Linked DNA regions of Homo sapiens: regions 1, 2 and 4 are each linked to region 3. The links are contacts of gene promoters, found by promoter capture Hi-C in human tissues and cell types (Jung and others, 2019). All regions are on one chromosome and are shown on one strand. Each heading gives the region's core, a stretch centred on a gene start or on the middle of the fragment in contact. The rest is flanking DNA. Distances are from core to core; before and after follow the strand shown. Region 1 overlaps TP53 (tumor protein p53). Region 2 overlaps ARHGEF15 (Rho guanine nucleotide exchange factor 15). Region 3 holds the start of GUCY2D (guanylate cyclase 2D, retinal). Region 4 overlaps WRAP53 (WD repeat containing antisense to TP53).

What was found. The method cuts DNA at HindIII sites, captures the fragments that hold promoters and counts their contacts. A contact is called where the count stands out against the background at its distance.
Region 1: a contact is called between a fragment that was not itself captured here and the fragment with the promoter of GUCY2D in region 3, in 1 of the 25 tissues and cell types used here (lymphoblastoid cells).
Region 2: a contact is called between a fragment that was not itself captured here and the fragment with the promoter of GUCY2D in region 3, in 4 of the 25 tissues and cell types used here (IMR-90 fibroblasts, lymphoblastoid cells, mesenchymal stem cells and 1 more).
Region 4: a contact is called between a fragment that was not itself captured here and the fragment with the promoter of GUCY2D in region 3, in 1 of the 25 tissues and cell types used here (lymphoblastoid cells).

Annotation. Positions count from the first base shown.
Region 1 is chr17:7,677,124-7,679,923 of GRCh38, reverse strand. All of the region lies in intron 1 of TP53 (tumor protein p53), which reads left to right. Among named protein-coding and RNA genes, the nearest start is that of TP53, 9.0 kb to the left of the region's middle. RefSeq lists enhancers at 1,121-1,731, 1,732-2,343, 2,344-2,800. The HindIII fragment of the contact is 5,026 bases long and covers 1-2,800 here.
Region 2 is chr17:8,319,084-8,321,783 of GRCh38, reverse strand. ARHGEF15 (Rho guanine nucleotide exchange factor 15) reads right to left here. Exons shown (of 16, transcript NM_173728.4): 13 at 2,625-2,700; 14 at 2,390-2,472; 15 at 2,181-2,285; 16 at 1-942. The coding sequence ends at 791. Among named protein-coding and RNA genes, the nearest start is that of ARHGEF15, 10 kb to the right of the region's middle. The HindIII fragment of the contact is 6,503 bases long and covers 1-2,700 here.
Region 3 is chr17:8,001,116-8,003,983 of GRCh38, reverse strand. GUCY2D (guanylate cyclase 2D, retinal) reads right to left here and starts at 1,369. Exons shown (of 20, transcript NM_000180.4): 1 at 1,250-1,369; 2 at 216-945; 3 at 1-132. The coding sequence starts at 936. The HindIII fragment of the contact is 18,418 bases long and covers 1-2,868 here.
Region 4 is chr17:7,698,122-7,701,208 of GRCh38, reverse strand. WRAP53 (WD repeat containing antisense to TP53) reads right to left here. Exons shown (of 11, transcript NM_001143992.2): 5 at 380-468. Among named protein-coding and RNA genes, the nearest start is that of EFNB3, 5.5 kb to the left of the region's middle. The HindIII fragment of the contact is 6,031 bases long and covers 1-3,087 here.

The DNA of each region.
Region 1 (2,800 bases), core at 134-2,633, 320 kb after region 3:
ACAGGGAGACCTGTCTGTAGACCTGTGTCCCTCCAAGTGGGATTGAGACTTTGGGCCCCCCATTTCAGGACAGCACCTCCTGGCCTGTTGACTGAATAGATCCCTGAAGGAGGTGTACTTGCATTAATGGAGTGGGGGTGGGAGCAGTACCACAGATCCGCACTAACAATCACACAGTTCTCTCTAGAATAATAATATAGAACAAGTGAAATAGAACAATTGCAGAAAGAGCTAACCTTTGTTGAGCTCTTACTGTGTGCCCAGCACTTTCCTCAACTCTACATTTCCCATAATACACAGAGTACTAGGTAGGCCAGGCTTGGTGGCTCACGCCTGTAATCCCAGCACTTTAGGAGGCCAAGGGGGGTGGATCACCTGAGGTCGGGAGTTCAAGACCAGCCTGACCAACATGGTGAAACCCCGTCTCTACTAGAAGTACAAAATTAGCCAGGTGTGGTGGCACATGCTTGTAGTCCTAGCTACTCAGCAGGCTGAGGCAGGAGAATCATTTGAATCCGGGAGGAGGTTGCAGTAAGCGGAGATAGTGCCACTGTACTCCAGCCTGGGCAATAAGAGCTGAGACTCCGTCTCAAAATAAAATAAAATAAAATAAAATAAAATAAAATAAAATAAAAAAAGAAAAGAGCCTGCCATTAAAGGAGCTGTTTGGTAGGGGATGTTTTGTCAGTGCAAACAACAGAAAAGTGGGCTGGGCACAGTGGTTCATGCCTGTAATCCCAGCACTTTGGGAGGCCAAGGCGGGCGGATCACCTGAAGTTGGGAGTTCAAGACCAGCCTGACCAATATGGAGAAACCCCGTCTCTACTAAAAATACAAAATTAGCCGGGCGCAGTGGCGCATGCCTGTAATCCCAGCTACTCGGGAGGCTGAGGCAGGAGAATCGCTTGAACCTGGGAGGCAGAGGTTGCGGTGAGCCGAGATCGCACCATTGCACTCCAGCCTGGACGAGAGCAAAACTCTGTCTCAAAAAAAAAAAAAAACAGAAAAGTGTAACAAACACTTACAGTAGGCATGTTTCTTAGCAAATCTGATGACAAATTTGGCATAAAGAAAGAGAGCATCCCTGAAAAAAAAAAAAAGAAAAAGAAAGAGAGCATCCTGCCTGGGCAACATAGTGAAACCCTGCCTCTACAAAAAAACTCAAAAATTGGCCGGGTGCAGTGGCTCACACCTGTAATCCCAGCACTTTGGGAGTCGGAGGCGGGAGGATCACCTGAGGTCAGGAGTTCGAAACCAGCCTGGCCAACATGGCAAAACCCCATCTCTACTAAAAATACAAAAAATTAATCAGGCGCATTGGTGGGCGCCTGTAATCCCAGCTACTCAGGAAGTTGAGGCAAGAGGATCGCTTGAATCTGGGAGGTGGAGGTTACAGTGAGTCGAGATCACACCACTGCACTCTAGCCTGGGTGACAGGGCGAGACTCCGTCTCCAAAAAAAAAAAGAAAAAGAAAAAGACTAAAAAATTAGCCAGGCAGGCCTCTGTGGTCCCAGCTACTTGGGAGGCTGAGGCAGGAGAATCACTGAGCCCAGGAGTCCGAGGCTGTAGTGAGCCATGATTGCACCACTGTACCCTAGCTTGGGCAACAAAGCAAGACCCTGCCTCAAAAGAAAAAAGAAAGAAAGAAAGAACATGGCGGGCCAGGCACAGTGGCTCACACCTGTAATCCCAGCGCTTTGAGAGGCCGAGGCAGGTGGATCACAAGGTCAGGAGTTCCACACCAGCCTGGCCAACATGGTGAAACCCTGTCTCTACTAAAAATACAAAAAATCAGCCAGGCATGGTGGCAGGGGCCTGTAATCCCAGCTACTCGGGAGGCTGAGGCAGGAGAATTGCTTGAAACCAGAAGGCAGAGGTTGCAGTGAGCCTAGACTGCACCACTGCACTCCAGCCTGGGCGAAAAGAGCCAAACTCCATCTCAAAAAACAAACAAAAAAACAAAACAAAAGAAAACATGGCAAAGCCTTTGAAAGCTTGTCTGGGAGAAGGTGCGATGATAGTTGCATAACTTCGTGCAAGATGCTGGTCCACACAGGGGCTGCCCCTTGCTCTTTCTCGCTCTCTTAACCTCTCATATAACAGGCTTGTGTGTTATTCACATTTATTGAGCCCAAGCAGGTGCAAGGCATTGTGATCTAATACTTTGGTCAGCAAGACAACAAGATAGATCACTGCCCTGCCCTTAGGAAGTGTATATGCTATTAGAGGAAACAGATAAAATAAACAAGGAAAAGTATCAGACAATGTAAGTGCTATGAGAATGCAAATGAGGTGATGTGAATTAAAATAGGATGACTTAAAGTCTGCACGGGAAGGAGCCTACCCCCATGTTCCTGGCTAGCCAAGGAACCACCAGTTGATTAGCAGAGAAGGGCAGCCAGTCTAGCTAGAGCTTTTGGGGAAGAGGGAGTGGTTGTTAAGAGATGAGATTAAAGAAGCCGAGACGGGCCATTCGTGAGGGGTTTGTAATGCAGGGCTGAGGAGTGTCCGAAGAGAATGGGCAGGTGAGCGGTGAGACAGTTGTTCTTCCAGAAGCTTTGCAGTGAAAGGAATCAAAGAAATGGAGCCGTGTATCAGGTGGGGAAGGGTGGGGGCCAAGGGGGTGTCCTTCCCCATACAGAGATTGCAGGCTGAGAATGACTATATCCTTGTTAACAGGAGGTGGGAGCAGGGCACGGTAGCTCACACCTGTAATCTTGGCACTTTAGGAGGCTGAGGCGGGCCGATCACCTGAAGTAAGGAGTTCGAGACCAGCCTGGCCAACATGCAAAGCCCTGT
Region 2 (2,700 bases), core at 201-2,700, 320 kb before region 3:
AAGCCACACCCAGCACAGTCTCTTCTGGAGCTCAGACTTAGCATCTTTCTTGGAGCGAATAATAGGAAAAATGGGGGGTAAAGGAAGAAATGGAGCACTCAGTCATTTGTGGGTCAGGAGCACAATCACCACACACACACCACAGTCAGCAGAATGCCTTTCCTGATACATATACACACATATCTACACATGCACATGTACACACACAGATTTTCTGAGACACATACTCTGAATTCTTCTGGAAGAGAAGAACTGGCTTGAGAGGGCACAGGAAGCATCCAGGAATGGAAACTAGTATTTCCCAGACTCAAAAGACAGGACCAGTCATTGCTGCAGAAACAAGCAGGGTGACTACTGGTCTCTTGGGTCCAGATCACCATTTTCTTTGGCTGATTGGCTTCCTGCTCATTCCTGTTCCCAATTTTATCCTACGACTTTATCTCCAATGAGGCCCTTTTTCAACTGCCATGACCTAGATTTGTCTTCCTTGGCCCTGAGCATAGCAGGAATACTCATTGGCCATAGGCTCAGCCAGCTCAGTACCCATTGGCTGCTCTGCACTAAGCCTCTGTCTCCATTGGCCACACATTCAAGGCATCCTCATTCATTCTTATTGCTGTGGGTTCAGGCGGCCGTTTTCATTGGCTGCTCTGTCCTGAAGCTCGATCTCTATGGTTGCCACGAGAGGTAGTATCTCCACTGACAGTGAATCCAATGGATGAATGGGCTTTGTTCTCTCCGTGCCACACTGGTAGGTGTCTCCCAACATGTGCCCCCTCCTCAGCCTGCATTAGGGTGGGGGGGCATTGGGGGTGCCTGAAGAAGATCCAACAGCCTCGAGAAGCCTCTGGTTCTGGCGAAGGTGCCTCCTCCTTTCGTGTTCCCCTGTGACTTCACACACCAGCTGGGCAGGGAAGGCCCCAGGAAGCCCCTTCAGCCAACCTGGGGGAAGAGAGACAGAGGCTCCAATGAGGTGGGGGCAGGGAGCAGGTGAGGAGGCAAAGGGGGCCTCGTGGGGTCTCAGGCCTTCAGGGTCATTGTAGGTGTGGGAATTCATGGACAAGCCTGGAGCATCGGTAGAAAGGGCATCAGAAGTGGAGGTGACAGCAGCTCGGAGAGAGTCTGGGCTGCTCTTCCGTCAAGCCCTGCAGTGGCTGCTCATGTCTCTTGGAGTAAGAGGTGGAGTCCTTGCAGAGACCTGTCAGGTCCTGCGTGATCCCATCCCTGCCACTTCTATGACCTCATTTGCTTCTCCCCCTTTCTCTCTCCTGCTAGTCACACTGGCCTCCTTACAGTTCCTCAGTCACACACCAGCCGCAGGGCCTTTGCACTGCCTGCTGCCTCCAGCTGGGACACTCTTCCCCCAGACACCATGGGCCTAAATTAGCTCCATCAAGCTTCATGTTGCCTTCTCAGTGAGGTCCACCTCGGCCTCCCTATTGAAAATTTCAGTCTGCCCAACCCTGGAACTCCTGACCTTCTTTGCTCTGCTCACTTTTTTTTTTTTCCATAACACTCATAACCTTCACATGTACTTTATAATTTACTTATCTATTTTGCTCATTCTTTATCGTCTGCCTCCTCTGCTAGAACGTAGCTCCAGCAAGGAAGGAAGTGTGATATATTTGATTCACAGTCCCTAGAACAGCGAGTGGCACTTTGTAGGTGCTTAATAAATATTTATTGAATGAATAAATGAAACACGGCCAGGCGCAGTGGCTCACGCCTGTAATCCCAGCACTTTGGGAGCCTGAGGCAGGAGGATCACTTGAGCTCGGGAGTTCAAGACCAGCCTGAGCAACATAGTGAGACCCCCCACCTCCATTAAAAAAAAAAAAGAATAGAAATAAGGCCTGGCACCAGAGGCTCATGCCTGTAATCCCAGCACTTTGGGAGGTGAAAGGGGACGGATCACCTGAGGTTAGTTCGAGACCAGCCTGGCCAACATGGTGAAACCCCATCTCTACTAAAAATACAAAAATTAGCCAGACGTGGTGGTGGGCACCTGTAATCTCAGCTACTTGGGAGGTTGAGGCAGGAGAATCCCTTGAACCCAGGAGGCAGAGGTTGCAGTGAGCCGAGCTCACACCACTGCACTCTAGCCTGGCTGACAGAATGAGACTCTGTCTCAAAAAATAATAATAATAAATACAAAATAAATAAATGAAAGACTTTCTCACCTTCAGGGGTCTTGTGCAGGTGTTTGGGGGCAGCCCTGGACTCCAGACTCCGTCCTTCAGTCTTGGCAGGTGCAGACGACTCTGAACACAGTTCCTGGGAACAGTCTGGTTGGGGGTGGGTGACATTAAAGTGATTCTGTTTAGCTTCTCCCCCATATTCCTCTAAGACTCGCTTTTTCTTCCCTCATCCCCTCTAGGGGGATACTCACCACAGTCCTCATAGATGGTGTCTGGGGAGCAGGGAAGGGGGCCTGGGGTTGGGAAGGCTCCCAGCCAGCGCTGCATGTCTGATCTGGTGGGGATATTGGGAAGTGTCACAGTTGGCCCAAAAGATCCTCTGGGGCTGAGGCAGGAGCCACAGAAGAGAGAGACTGGGGAAGTGGGGGAGGTCTGAGAGGTCAGATAAGTGTCCCAAGGTTGTTTTCTGAGGGAAACACAACTCACAGGGAAGAAGCTTGGAGTAGTCGGTGGGTGGGGCGGCCCTGGTGGTTGCTGAGAAGGGAGAGGCGGAAGGTAGGGG
Region 3 (2,868 bases), core at 120-2,619:
AGGCGTAGTGGATCGTGTCGAAGGGCAGGAAGACCAGGGAGCCATCGGTCAGGCCCAGCTCCTCTGCGGCCTCCAGGAGGTAGCGCTGCTCCTCGCCACCCAGCAGCACCGAGTGCATCACCATGATCACTGCTGCGGACAGAGGCTTGGCTCGCGGCGCCGTCCGGCTGCCGGCAGGACCAGCCGACCTCCTCGCACCCTGCAAGGGAGCCTACCTGTGACCCTGGGCCCGTCCCGAACCTTCCTCAGGGCCTCCCGGGCTCCAGACAGGTCCAAGGGCTCCATGGAAGTCACGGAGGCGACAGGCAGGCCCCGGGCCCTGAGTGCCGTGGACAGTGAGCGTCCCGCCTCCACCCACAGGTCCTGGGGGGCGGTGACCAGGGCCACGCGCGCCCAGCCGAATGCGCGAAGCAGGGCGTAGAGGGCATCCGCGGCGGGGGTCACGGCAGGGGCCGTGGTGCCCTCCGCCTGCGTCCAGGGGCAGCCCCAGGGCACCAGCGCGATCCCGGCTTCTTCGGCGAGCAGCTCGGCTGGCCGGCAGGCCGCAGGGTTCACCGGACCCACGAGGCCCGACACGCGGGCCAGCGCGGAGGACACGGCCCCCAGCGAGCCCGGCGTCCGGCAAGGCTCGGGCAGCAGCGCTACCTCGAAGCGGGGACCGCCTGCCAGGCCGGGGTCGCGGTTCAGGCGGGCGGCGGCCAGGCGGGCGGCCAGGTCCGGGCGAGCCCGAGAGAAGATGGGGTCGCAAGCCCAGGGGCCCAGGACCCCCACCGTGAACACGGCGGAGAGGGCGGGGGGCTGCAGCAGAAGCAGGAGCAGCAGGAGCGGGAGCCGGGGCAGGGCCCGGGGGAGGCGGGGCAGGGACGGAGCCCACCACGCGGGACCGCAGAGCCCGGGGTCCGGAAGCCCACCCGCTCGGCGGGCGCAGGCGGTCATTGCCGGCTTCTGCGAACACAGACGGAGCAGGCTGAGCGACTGAGACCCCGGCCTCCCCTAGGGTTCTCCCCGTAACCCCGAGTTTCTCCAAGCCCGAGTAACCCATGGGATGATTCTGCTGCTACCGCCCCCTCCGGAGGCTGGGAAGACTAACTGGGGCCAAGGACACCGCCCCGAAGCCCCCTTCTGCCGCCCCGGCTTCCCGCTCCCACCCGGCCTGCCCCTCCCCCCGTCGGAGGCGTCAGGGGTCAGCAGGGACTCGCCTGCGCCCTCAGACCGACCCTATCCCAGCGGAGGGGCCTCTGACATTTACAGGGAAGTCCGGGGGCTCGGGCCCACGGCCCCCGGTGAGGGGTCACAGGGCCGGTCCCCCTTTTGACGCCCGCCCACAGGTCTTCCTTGCCAGCCCAGGCCAGGGCGGGGGCGTGGGTACAGCCGGCCAGAGCCCTTAATCTCCCCAAGCTGATTAGGGTCCTTAATTAGGTAGGGAGGGGCGGGCTAGTGGAGGATGAGAGCCCCTACTGCGCCTTTCTGGGGTGGGATCTGTCCTGGCTTCCAGGTAGTCAGCCAGATCCTTTCCCCTCCATGCCTTCCAGCCCCCCACATCACCCTCATCACCACCACCCCTGCACAAAAGCAGCCGCAGCTTCCCCTTTCAGCCGTCGGCCACACTGCCCTGCTCAGCCAGAAAGTAACAAGTGCCTGCCCGTGGACAGCTGTGGGTAATCCGTCCTGGAGAAGAAACACTGATCCCAGTCCCTTTCCTTACAATCTTCTGTTTCCAGTTCTGCCAGCTAAGTTCAAGCTCCATCCTTTGGCTGGCAAAGTCTATATCCCAGAGACCAAACCCACACCAAGCTGACACCTGCCTTTCTTCTTTCACTTCTCTTCTCTCTCTCGCCACACTTGATTCCCTGACCTCTGCTTCTCCATGCCTAGAAAACCACCCTCAGGAAGTAATGAAAAGAGCTTTGGCCTCCGACAGACCTGGGTTCCAAGTCCCTCTTGCTGATTTTTGGACCTTGGGCAATTGCTTAATCTGAGGGTTGTTGTGAAAATGAATATAATTGCCCGGATGGCAAGAATAGCTAACAATTTTAGAGAAGAGTATAATGGAAGATGCCCTATAAGATATACAAATTTATTATAAAGCAATAGCAATTATGTATTTATGTAAATATATAATATATAAAACATAGCAATTATATATCTACATAAATATATAATATATAAAACATAGCAATTATATATTTATATAATTATATGATATATAAAACAGCAATTATATAAATATATACTATAAAGCTATAGCAATTATATATTATATATTTATATAAATCCACATTATGTAGTGACAGCAATTATATATTTATATAAATATATATTATAAAGCTATGGCAATAAAGACTTCATAGTTTTGGCACAAGGATAAACAAATGGACCAATGAAATAGAATATACAGTACTGAAACAAACACAGCAAATGTGTGAAGACGTGGACATTTCTTACCAACTGGGAAAGAATAAACTTCAACAAATGGAGCTGATTAGCCATCTGGGGGGAAAATAGAATTCAATCCCTATCTCACACCATACACAAAATCTATTCCAGGTCAAAGACCTATATGTGAAAAATAAAACTTAAAAACTTTTAAATGAATCATTTTCAGACTTGGTGGCAAAGATTGGATCAGGTAAGAATCATCAGTGGATTCTAAAGCTGGGGGAAATGTTGGATGAGGAGCAGAACTTTTGCAGGGTCTGAAAGTATCTCCCTCCAGATTGCCATGAGTTGGAAGGGAGTGGGGAATAAAATAAAAAGCAGTCATTGTACAGTGGAGAAATGGGGCAATACTTTAAGCAAGTGATCAAAATTAACCATGAGGGGCAGAGAGACATTCTTTGCCTCCAGATGTGATACCCTGAGAAGGAC
Region 4 (3,087 bases), core at 277-2,776, 300 kb after region 3:
TCACCTGAGGTCAGTTCGAGACCAGCCTGGCCAACGTGGTGAAACCCCATCTCTATGAAAAATACACAATTAGCTGGGTGTGGTGGTGCACACCTGTAATCCCAGCTACTCAGGAGGCTGAGGCAGGAGAATCACTTCAACCTGGGAGGCGGAGGTTGCAGTGAGCTGAGACTGCATCACCGCCCTCCAGCCTGGGTGACAGAGGGAGACTCAATCTAAAAAAAAAAAAAGGAAGGGGAGGAAGCCAACTGACCAGCCCCTCTGATAAGCATGCCAAGCCTTCCTCCTCCAAAGACCCCTGGCAGCCCTTGACTCTCCCAAGAGGCCCTGCTTGAAACTGGGTGGTGGGGCGGCGAGCAGGGAGGCAAACATTACTTACTAGGAGGTGTCTGGCTGGGCTGAGGACATCAGAGAATACCAGCAGTAATCATAGATGGTATCACCTTCCACCATTCGAAGGACAGGGACCTATACAGAGACGGGGGAATGGCTGAGTCACTCGGAGGGAAAAGGAGTCTGAGGCGCGTGCCTCTAGCAGTGTTGTGGCAGATGGGGTGTATATATGGAGCACAGACTCTGTCTCAATGTTCAAGGGTGAGCTCAGACTTTAATGTCAAATTTAGCCACCAAAAGCCATATAGATTCATACTTTTTTTTTTTTATTATTTTGAGACAGAGCATGCACCACCATGCCTGGCTAATTTTGTTTTTGTTTTTTTTTTTAATAGAGACAGGGTTTCACCATGATGTTGGCCAGGCTGGTCTCAAACTTCTGACCTCAGGTGATCCACCCGCCTCAGCCTCCAAAAGTGCTGGGATTACAGGTGTGAGCCACCGTGCCGGGCCTTATACTTTTTCTTTATAAACACTTAGAGAGGAAGAAACAAATAATAATACCTCAACCCAGAGACAAAGAACCAACCAATTATTCAAATACTTACTGAGTACATGCTAGGTGCCATTTGATCCTTTAAAAAAATATTAGTACAAAAATTTGCCAGGCGTGGTGGTGGACACCTGTAATCCCAGATACTCAGGAGGCTGAGGCAGGAGAATCCCTTGAACCCAGGAGACAAAGGTTGCAGTGAGCTGAGATCGCACCACTGCACTCCACCCTAGGTGACAGAGAGACAGTGCCCCCCAAAAAAAAAAGAAAAAGAAAAGAAAAAAATTATCGGCTGAGCACAGTGGCTCACACCTGTAATCCCAGCACTTAGGGAGGCTGAGGCAGGCAGATCACTTGAGCCCAGGAGTTCAAGACCAGCCTGGGCAATATGGTGAAACACTGTCTCTACAAGAAAAAAAAATTAGCTGGGCATGGTAGTGCATGCCTGTAGTCCCAGCTACTAGGGAGGCTGAGGCATGAGAATTGCTTGAGCCCAGGAGATAGAGACCACAGTGAGCTGAGATCATTGCCACTGCACTCCAGCCTGGGCAACAGAAACACTGTCTCAAAAATACAAAAATGGAAACAAAAAAACCTCCTTACAAAAATAAAGAAAAAAAATTAAACAGTTCAAACATACAAAGTATCTTATTAAAAAAACAGCCCTGTGACCCCTCCATCCAGCTGAACAAAAAGATATGTTTAAACCCCTTTCCTAACAGAAACTCTCCCTCAGAGGTAAACACTATCTTGAATTTATCACTGTCATACATTTCCTTAGGAATATATATATATATATAAATATATATATATATATATAAATATATATATATATATATATATATAAATATATATATATATATAAATATATATATATATATAAATTTTTTTTTTTTAATTTTAAAGGCAGAGTCTCACTCTGTCACCCAGGCTGAGTGCAGTGGCACGATCTCAGTTCACTGCAACCTCCACCTCCCAGGTTCAAGCAATTCTTGTGTCTCAGCCTCCCGAGTAGCTGGGATTGCAGGAGTTCACCTCCATGCTCAGCTAATTTTTTGTATTTTTAGTATAGACAGGGTTTCGCCACGTTGGCCAGGCTGGTCTCGAACTCTTGGCCTCAAGTGATCTTTCTGCCTCAGCCTCCCAAAGTGCTGGGATTACAGGTGTGAGCCACTGCGCCCAGCCTAGGAGTATATTCATATGGGAAAAAAAACAGTATCTAACGTTGTCTTGCAGGTCTTTAGACTTAATTTTTTCTTTTCTTAGAGACAGGGTCTTACTCTGTTGCCTAGGCTGGAGCACAGTGGCGCAATCATCTCACTGAAACCTCAAACTCCTGGGCTCAAGCAAACAATCCCCTGGCCTCAGCCTCCCTAGTAACTGGGAATATAAGCATAAGCCACCATACCTGGCTTATTTATTTATTTATTTATTTATTTATTTATTTTTGACGGAGTCTCGCTCTGTCGCCCAGGCTGGAATGCAGTGGCACAATCTTGGCTCACTGCAACCTCTGCCTCCCAGACTCAAGCAATTCTCTGCCTCAGCCTCCTGAGTAGCTACGATTACAGGCGCCTGCTATCACGCCCGGCTAATTTTTTTGTATTTTTAGTAGAGACGGGGTTTCACCATCTTGGCCAGGCTGGTCTTGAACTCCTGACCTCGTGATCCACCCACCTCAGTCTCCCAAGTGCTGGGATTACAGGCATGAGACACCACGCCCAGCCTGCCCGGCTAATCTTTAAAATTATTTTTTTGTAGAAACAGGGGTCTGTGTTGCTCACGCTGGTCTAAAACTCCTGGCCTCAAGCAATCCAGCCACCTCAGCCTTTCAATGCACTGGGATTACAAGCATGAGCCACCATGCCCGGCCTAGACTTAACAGTAATGGTATTATATCATATACATCCCTCTGTGATAGCAAGCTTTAACCATGGAAACACATTTTGCTCTAATTCATGCATTTTCACTGGTGTATAGTACTCTACTCATGAATATATTCAAACTGATCTACCCTTCTTCTATTTAGAATCACTGATGTTTTTCTGTTTTTTGGCTAGTGTGCTTTAACATTCTGTACACATGTAGAAGGGTTTCTCTACAGTTTCTGCTGAAGAGTAAAATTACTGGTCTCTACGCTATGCACTTTGCAAACTTTGTAAGATACTATAATGTCAATTTCTTTCCCAAAGCACTTGTCC